3 separate regions of the Homo sapiens genome follow, and all the other regions are linked to region 1. Evidence: promoter capture Hi-C in 16 types of primary human blood cells and fetal thymus (Javierre and others, 2016). All regions are on one chromosome and are shown on one strand. Each heading gives the region's core, a stretch centred on a gene start or on the middle of the fragment in contact. The rest is flanking DNA. Distances are from core to core; before and after follow the strand shown. Region 1 holds the start of RSF1 (remodeling and spacing factor 1). Region 2 overlaps NDUFC2-KCTD14 (NDUFC2-KCTD14 readthrough). Region 3 holds the start of KCTD14 (potassium channel tetramerization domain containing 14).

What was found. The method cuts DNA at HindIII sites, captures the fragments that hold promoters and counts their contacts. A CHiCAGO score of 5 or more calls a contact.
Region 2: a fragment that was not itself captured here is called in contact with the fragment with the promoter of RSF1 in region 1 in 2 of 17 cell types (megakaryocytes and endothelial precursors); the score reaches 5.2 in megakaryocytes.
Region 3: a contact is called between the fragment with the promoter of KCTD14 here and the fragment with the promoter of RSF1 in region 1, in 7 of 17 cell types (total B cells, total CD4 T cells, erythroblasts and 4 more). The highest score is 8.4, in total B cells.

Annotation. Positions count from the first base shown.
Region 1 is chr11:77,819,320-77,822,042 of GRCh38, forward strand. It overlaps RSF1 (remodeling and spacing factor 1), which reads right to left and starts at 1,403. Exons shown (of 16, transcript NM_016578.4): 1 at 1,209-1,403. The coding sequence starts at 1,395. It overlaps AAMDC (adipogenesis associated Mth938 domain containing), which reads left to right and starts at 1,825. Exons shown (of 4, transcript NM_024684.4): 1 at 1,825-1,922. RefSeq lists enhancers at 1-757, 53-162, 758-1,730, 1,283-1,452, 1,463-1,602 and silencers at 793-882, 1,023-1,112, 1,703-1,862. The HindIII fragment of the contact is 10,465 bases long and covers 1-2,723 here.
Region 2 is chr11:78,046,596-78,049,318 of GRCh38, forward strand. All of the region lies in intron 1 of NDUFC2-KCTD14 (NDUFC2-KCTD14 readthrough), which reads right to left. Among named protein-coding and RNA genes, the nearest start is that of THRSP, 16 kb to the right of the region's middle. The HindIII fragment of the contact is 2,295 bases long and covers 263-2,557 here.
Region 3 is chr11:78,021,867-78,024,589 of GRCh38, forward strand. It overlaps KCTD14 (potassium channel tetramerization domain containing 14), which reads right to left and starts at 1,410. Exons shown (of 2, transcript NM_023930.4): 1 at 1,294-1,410. The coding sequence starts at 1,383. The region is part of intron 2 of NDUFC2-KCTD14 (NDUFC2-KCTD14 readthrough); the gene reads right to left. LOC124902723 (a long non-coding RNA gene) reads left to right here and starts at 677. Exons shown (of 2, transcript XR_007062795.1): 1 at 677-1,155; 2 at 1,668-1,856. RefSeq lists enhancers at 199-766, 767-1,336, 1,337-1,904. The HindIII fragment of the contact is 5,224 bases long and covers 1-2,723 here.

The DNA of each region.
Region 1 (2,723 bases), core at 153-2,652:
AAAAGCCTTCTCTGAGGAAAGAAAAGTGCCAGAAAAGGAGAGGCAGGGATCGGGAATAAATGGGGGTGAGTATAAGCACTCAGTGTGAAGGCTGGAGGCAGCAGGCGCAGCGCTGAGATGCTCCAGCAAAAGAACCAGCAGCAGCAGCAGGAAGTTTCAATGGGGCCGGGCAGAGCATGCGCCCTGCACCCGCGCGGTGGCCTTATGTGGAAGGAGCACCACTTGCGAACACCAATAATAGACCAGCGGCACCAGAGAGAGAAACATGAGCAACAAGCACCTTCTTCAACTGTTTCCCCCTCCGTCAGAGCCCCTCCTCCAGCTTACATACTAACCACCCCACCCTACCGTGCAAATGGGAGGGAGACGACTTCTTCGCCTAAGCCCGGCTGCCAAGATGAAGGGGGAAGGGATTGGAAAAGTGGGGAGATGCTCGCCTATTATTTTGGGGGAGGTGGGGAGAGGAAGGAGAACTATGGAGGAGGAATTAACCCTCTCCTCTCCACAGTGGAGCTGAACCGACTTCGCCCCCCTACCGAGAATGGAGAAGAACCCCCTCCCGTGGGGGAGGAGCAGACCTCCCCACTTCAAGGAAGGAGTTTTAGGGGTTAAAGCAGCCCTCGAGGGGAAGGGAAAAGGGACAAATCTCTCAGGGGAGTTCCCAACAGAGGGAGGGAGAGTTGAGTGTCCGCTGGCCCCCGCCCACCCAGGTGAAGGGAGATAAGGAGGTGTCCGGAGCAGCCGAGCCCAGCCTTCCCCGAGATGGTCGGGAAGACTGGTGGGAGGAGGGGAGGGAGTAAGGGTGGGGAGGAGGAGAAAAGCGCAAAGCTGGCCGGAACCTGCGCTCCCCTTCCCCCGCCGCCAAGGGGGAGACGGGGTGGGGGGCCGCCCTCCGCCGCGGAGAAGCAGTCCCCGGGGCTGCCGACCGGCACAATGACCCCTCCCCGCCTCCAGCCCACACCTAGCCCGCAACGCCTCCACCTCAGCTCCCCGCCCGGCCGAGTGGCCCTAGGGGGCCTCCGCCCCGCCTCCCCACTGCCCAAGACCCCGGGGGCTGGGCGGAGAAGACCAGCCCGGCGGAGTTGCGTCCCAGGGGGAAGACAGAGCCGCGGAGGCCCGAGCCGCGAAGAACCGGGGCGCCTGTGAAGAGCGGAGAGTAGCAGAGCGCCAGGGCCGCTTCCCGCCGGGCGTTCGGGCCCCTCGCTTACCTTCTCCGTTGCCGACGTCCGGCGGCGGCGCCTGCAGCACCCGCTCCAGCTCAGGGAACGGCAACTCAGGCAGGTCTAGCAGCGGCCCGTAGCGCTCCAAGAAGGAGCAGACTACGGCGAAGTTGGGGCACGAACCCGGGCAGCCCGGAGGAGCCATCACCGCCGCCGCTGCCGCCGCCGTCGCCATTTTGAACTGGAGGATGGAGGAGGAGGCGATGGGGGGGCGGGGGAAGTTGTGGTGCCGAGGGATGGCAAGGCAACCTTACAGACGACAGGAGGCGCTCTCAAGTGGGCTCCTCTGCGGATCCCAGCGTCTCAGGGACGGCTCCGCGATCCCACAATACATCGGCGGCCCGGAGCAGTCGAGAACCGAGTCAGACGGGAGACAGAGCGGCCCTCGGCGCCTTTCACTTTCCGCCCTCTTTCCGCCCCCTTCTCTCCTCCCCTTCGGGCTTGCCACTGCCTCGTGTGACAGGGGGAATGAAAACAAGGGAAGCGGGGCGGGGAGGCGGGCTGGAAGCGGGAGGGGCGGGACTTCTCGAGAACAATGGCCAATGGACGCAGAGGGGGCGGGGCCTCGGGCGCTGTTCAACTGCAGGGCGTATTCCCGGAGGGCAGTTGGGGAGCGCAGATCCCGAAGCAGCGCTGGGAGCGTAAGTGCGGGCAGAGCACTGCGCCGTTTGGGAACGCAACTTTGAGGAGACAGTGCGGTGGGTGAGTTTGCGGGGGAATCCTGAAACTGGGCCACGAGATGGTGGAGAGGTTGAGGAGAATTAATAAACAGAAAAAGGGAATAGGGCGGGGGAAAGCACAGTTGTGGGAGAAGGTTGGGAAGGGGAAAGGTAGAGGTGTGCCCTTAATTAGGGGCTGGGCTGGGACCTCGGTAAGATGTCTCTGTGGAAGTTTGCCGACGGGGTATTGCTCTCTGCTGGGGTACAGGAATCGCAGCTTTGCTGGAAAAGCAGGATCTGAGGGAACGGAACTCTGGGGGAATCGTCGGAGTGAGGAGTTGGGGCCCTGCTGGGAGAAGAGGATCTGAGGAGACCAGGCTCTGCTAGGGGGCCATGGTGTGAGGGGAAGGGGCTCTGTTCAGGGACCAGAATCGGAGTGTGGGCTGGGACTCCATTGAGAGGCGGAACATGACAGGAGACGGTGGAGCAGCGAAAAGTTTGTTAGAAGACAGGGTTCCACTTCGGGGCGGGGCGGGGGCAGTGAACATTCCCACAAAGAACGCCAGAGAGAAACTACCAATAATGTAAAATAGAATGTGCAGCCTGAGAAGCAGCAGTACACGTTATGCTTAGAAGCCTGAGCTTTGGATTCAGCCAGGCCTGAGTCCTAGCGGGGCTACTTCATGACACTGTGGAGGTTTCTTTATTTCTTTGAACTCCTTAGAGTGGGGTGATAATAGTACCTACATCATACGGTATTACTAGATAAATCACAGTAAAGTGATTAGCACAGTGCCGTAGCACATAGTGAGTACTTTAAAAATATTAGTTATCAAAAAAGGAG
Region 2 (2,723 bases), core at 160-2,659, 230 kb after region 1:
GACTTAAGGGGGCGAGGTTAGGAAGAGGTGAGCAAAGATTTGGAAGTTATGGTGGAGTTTGGGAGAGAGTGCAGGCATGCTGGAGAATCATCAGTATATATGTATGTATGTATCTTGCTATTTCATGCCTCTGAACTTTTGCTGAGGCTTGCATTTATTCCTAGAAAACATTTCTCACTTTTCCTTTTCTGTTGTTATAAGTACTTAATCTATTCAAAAATATTAGATGATGAATATATAAATATTCATGTAGCCATTACTAAGCTTGGGAAATAAGACCTAATGAATATAAAGTACTCATGTACGCTTCCTTTTTTCCCCTCCCTCCACCCAGATGGCTCCTTCAATTTGCTTTTTCATTCCAACGTTTAAGTTTGTGTTTACTACCTGTGTAGGTATAAAGAATATACAGATACATGAAATCATAATTTTGGGGGTTTTTTTGAGACAGCGCATTGCTCTGTAGCCCAGGCTGGAGTGCTGTGGCAATGATCACGGCTAACTGCAGCCTTGACCTCCTGGGCACAAGCAATCCTCCTGCCTCAGCCTCTTGAGTAGCTGGGACCATAGGCGCATGCCACCACACCCAGCTAACTTAAATTTTTTGTAGAGATGGGGTCTCTTTATGCTGCCCAGGTTGCAAAAATATTTTTTAGTAGAGATGGGGCCTCTCACTATGTCACCCATCTTGGTGTCAGACTCGTGGCCTCAAGCAATCCTCCTACCCAGGCCTCCCAAAGTGCTAGGATTACAGCCCACCATACCCAGCCAGAAAAATTTTAATAGGTATATATTTTATTAAATATACTATATCCTGGCCAGGCACGGTGGCTCATGGCTGTAATCCTAGCACTTTTGGAGGCTGAGGTAGGGGCATCACTTGAGGCCAGGAGTTCAAGACCAGCCTGGACAATGTGACGAAACTTATATTTCTTTTTTTTTTTTTTTTTTTGAGACAGAGTCTCGCTCTGTTGCCCAGGCTGGAGTGCAGTGGCACAATCTCAGCTCACTGCAAGCTCCGCCTCCTGGGTTCACGCCATTCTCCTGCCTCAACCTCCCGAGTAGCTAAGACTACAGGCGCCTGCCACCACACCTGGCTAATTTTTTGTATTTTTAGTAGAGACGGGGTTTCACGATGTTAGCCAGGATGGTCTCGATCTTCTGACCTCATGATCCACCTGCCTCGGCCTCCCAAAGTGCTGGGATTACAGGCGTGAGCCACTGTGCCCAGCCAAATTATATTTCTTGTCTCTACAAGAAATAAAAAAATTAGCTGGACTTGGTGGCACATGCCGGTAGTCCCAGCTACTCGGGAAGGCTGAGGTGGGAGAATCCTTTGAGCCTGGGAAGTTGAGGCTACAGCAAGCCGTGATTATGCCACTGTACTCCAGCCTGGGTGACAGAGTGAGATCTTGACTCAAAAAAAACAAAACAGGCCAGGTGCAGTGGCTCATGACTATAATCCCAACACTTTGGGAGGCCGAGGCAGGCAGATCACCTGAGGTCAGGAGTTCCAGACCAGCCTGACCAACATGGTGAAACCCCGTCTCTACTAAAAATACAAAAATTAGCTGGGTGTGATGGCTCACGCCTGTAATCCTAGCTACTCGGGAGGCTGAGGCAGGAGAATCACTTGAACCTAGGAGGCAGAGGTTGCAGTGAGCTGAGATTGCACCACTGCACTCCAGCCTGGGCGACAGAGTGAGACTCCGTTTCAAAACCAAAAACAAACAAAAAAATAAAATAATAAAATAAAAACAAAACAAAAATACAAGGCACCAAAGCAATGTAACAGGCGCCTGCAGTCTGAGCTAATGAGGAAGCTGAAGTGGGAGGATGGTTTGAGCCTTGGAGCTCGAGACCGGCCTAGGCAACATCGCGAGACTTCATCTCAAAAAAGAAAGAAAAAAAATACCATGGCATATAAAAACAAAATTGAAAGGGATGAGTGTAATAGGCACAATAATGGCCCCCAAAGATGCCACCTTCCTAATTCCTGAACCTGTAAATGTTAGGTTACATGGCAAAGGGAAATTAAGGGGGCAGATGGAGTTAAGATTGCTAATCAGCTGACCTTAAGATGGAAAGATTATCCTGAATTATCCAGCAGTACCCAATGTAACTGGAAGAGGGAGAACCAGAGAGGCAGCATGAAAAGGTGTTCCTGGCTTTGAACACAGAGGAAAAGATTACAAGCCAAAGAGTGCGGGCAGCCTCTAGGAGCCAGAAAAGACAAGGAACGAATTCTCCCCAGAGCCTCCAGAAAGGAGGGCAGCCCTGCTGACCCCTTGATTTTACGCTGGTGAGACCCATGTTGGACTTCTGACCTCCAGGATTATAAGGTAATAAGTGTCTGTTGCTTTAAGCCCCTAGGTTTGTGTTCATCTGTTACAACAGCAATACAAAATTAATACAAGGAGCGTGACCGGCAGCGAATCCGTATGGGTCTGCCGCAACCTCAGTTCTTGCCTCCTCAGCAGAAAGAATTCGACTGAGGCACATAAGGCAGAAGGAGAAACCGAGACAAGTCTTAGAGCAGGAGTGAAAGTTTATTAAAAGCTTTAGAGCAGGAAAGGAAAGAAAGTACACTTGGGGCTGAGTGTGGTTGCTCACGCCTGTAATCCCAGCACTTTGGGAGGCTGAAGCGGGTAGATCACGTGAGGTTAGGAGTTCAAGACCAACCTGGCCAACATAGTGAAACCCAGTCTCTAATAAAAACACAA
Region 3 (2,723 bases), core at 160-2,659, 200 kb after region 1:
ATCAACTACCAGAACTGCCTGCTGCTCCCCACTCCTCCAATCCAGAGCTGGGCAAGCCCCCTCACCTCCAGAAGCTCACTCACTTGGCCATCCGCACTCCTTTCTCTGACCCCACTCATCCTTCAGATGAATTCCTCTGGGAGTCCTTCGGGGTGGGTTGTCTCACTGTGATCCCAGAAAGTCCTACACTACTATACTTCCACTGGCCTGGCAGTTCTTCCCTTGCAATTCCCTGTTTCTTCATTGACTGTGAGGTTCCTGGCCAAGTGCTGTGTTTCATGCCTGTAATCCCAGCACTTTGGGAGGCTGAGGTAGGAGGATTGCCTGAGCCTAAGAGTTTGAGACCAGCCTGGGTCTCACCAACATGGCGAGACCCCATCTCTATTTTAACAAACAAACAAACAAACAAAAACTCTGTGAGGCTCCTAAGGGAGGGGAATATCCTCTGATTTACAGGAGCATCTAGTATTCTGTTCAAGGCCAATCTTGCCCTACCTGGCATCATGCACAGTGCCTTACACTTCCCCAGTAATTCATTCAGGCATTTATGGAACACCTAGGGTGGTCCTGGCACTAGGCATGTGGCTTTGTCAATAGCCAACAACAATGACGTGATCATGGCCCTATTAGAGAGAGCCACGCTGCCCTGCTGCTGGATCTGCTTTCTCTTCCTCCAGGTCTTCAGGATGACTCTCAGTGCAGGAGAGAACCCGAATGTTCTGCTCCCAGAGTGCACGCAGCCTTTTCCCCATCCTCCTCCCCAACTCCCCTCACCCAAGCTGGGGACCAGGCAGGCAAGCAGAGGGATTTGGGACCCAGCCAGAGGGCAGGGGCAGGCTGAAGACCCAGCCAAGGGGCAGGGGCAGGCTGGAGAGGGCTGCAGGTGAGGGAAAGATCCTCTGGCCGAGCTGGTTGGATGGGCTTCTCCCACCGGGAGCAAGGGAGAAGGTGGGGCAGAGGAGGAGTCGTGGGCTAGGACAAGCCGGTGGGGAAGAGACAAGGGAAAGGAACTAAAGACCCAATGTAGAGGGAGGAAGCAAAAGGGCAAAGAGGAAAGGCTGGACAGAGCCAAACCAGAAAGGGACACCGAGGCGCGAAAGGAGAGTGATCCCAGCAGGAGGGACGGCAAAGATTGAAGAGAGCGACCAGCCCGAGGTGAAGGGGGACAGCGCGCCAGAAGCAGGGGGCTCGGGCGTCTGGGAGGGACGGGCAGGAGAAACTGGAAGGGAGGGAAGAGGCGGAGGGAAGAGGCGGAGGACAGAGGCGCGGGGACGCAGCTAGCCTCGCACTTACCGTTGGCCGCCTGGGCCGGGGGGACTGGGGCAGAGGGGTCTGGCTCGTCATCCTGCCCACTGGCCGCTCCACTGCGCAGCCCTGCCACATGCAGATCACTTGGGCCAGCGGAAGTGCCCCTGGCTGCCCGCCCCTAGGTGGGAACACCGAGGCTCAAGGCGGGACGGGGCTGAGCCAGGCGTGGCTTGCAGTGAGACTGGGCCAAGTGCAGAAAGAAATGGACAGTCTGTCTATTTGGGGCTTCTAAAAGTTGTTAGGCCCTGAGAAGGGCTGACTTTGGAGACCGAGAAATGGAGCAGACCCCTTAAGGACTGACCTTTTGATATAGATTAATTTCCTTCCTTTTCTTTCTTTCTTTCTTTTTTTTTTTTCAGAGACAGGGTCTCACTCTATCGCTCAGGCTGAAGTGCAGTGGCGGATCAGGCTCACTGCAACCTCAACCTCCTGGGCTCAAGTGATCCTCCCACCTCAGCCTCCCAAAGTGGTGGGATTACAGGCCTGAGCCACGGCAACTTGCCTCTTCCTATATTTTCTTTTACGCTTAAATAAATTACTTAAACATATTGCTTGAATCCCGTTATTAAAGTTGACATTAGTTAATGCCCCTCTCTGGGCCTCGGAGTTCCCAGTAGTGAAATGGGGGAGGCAGAAGGAATTGACATTGACTGACATTGACAACCAGAGACTTTCTATTCCCTACAGTCCTAGGGAGTGAAAGATCCGCAACACCCATTTTACAGATCAGAAAACTGGCGCTCTAGGAGGTAGGGTGGTGTTAAAATGTAAAGTCTGAGGATCAACAAAACTTTTTTAAGAGTATACTTGAGTAACAGGCAATTCTTGAATCGGGGAACACCAGATGGAAAGAGGTTGAGTGTTCCCATGACAATGCATCAGAGGCAAATATTTATGGGGAGAATATGGAAGCAAGATATTTTGTTGGGGACAGGCATGGTGGCTCACGCCTGTAATCCTAGCACTTTGGGAGGCCAAAGCGGACAGATCATTTGAGGTCAGAAGTTCGAGACCAGCCTGACCAAAATGGTGAAACCCCGTCTCTACTGAAAATACAAAAATTAGCTGGGTGTGATGGCATGTGCCTGTAATCCCAGATACTGTGGACGCTGAGGCAGGAGAATCGCTGGAACCCGGGAGGCAGAGATTGTAGTGAGCTAAGATTGCACCACTGAACTCCAGCCTGGGCAACAAAGATTCCCTCTCAAAAAAAAAAAAAAAAAATATATATATATATACACACACACACACACACACACACACACACACACATATATATATATATACATATATATATATAAAATTGGTTACAGTTAAAAAATCTCCTTTTTTGGTTTCCTTTGTTGAAAAGTCCACAGCTACTTAATTGTATGTTAGTTGGCTGCTTGTGGTTGGCTAATGTTAAGTTTCGTTTC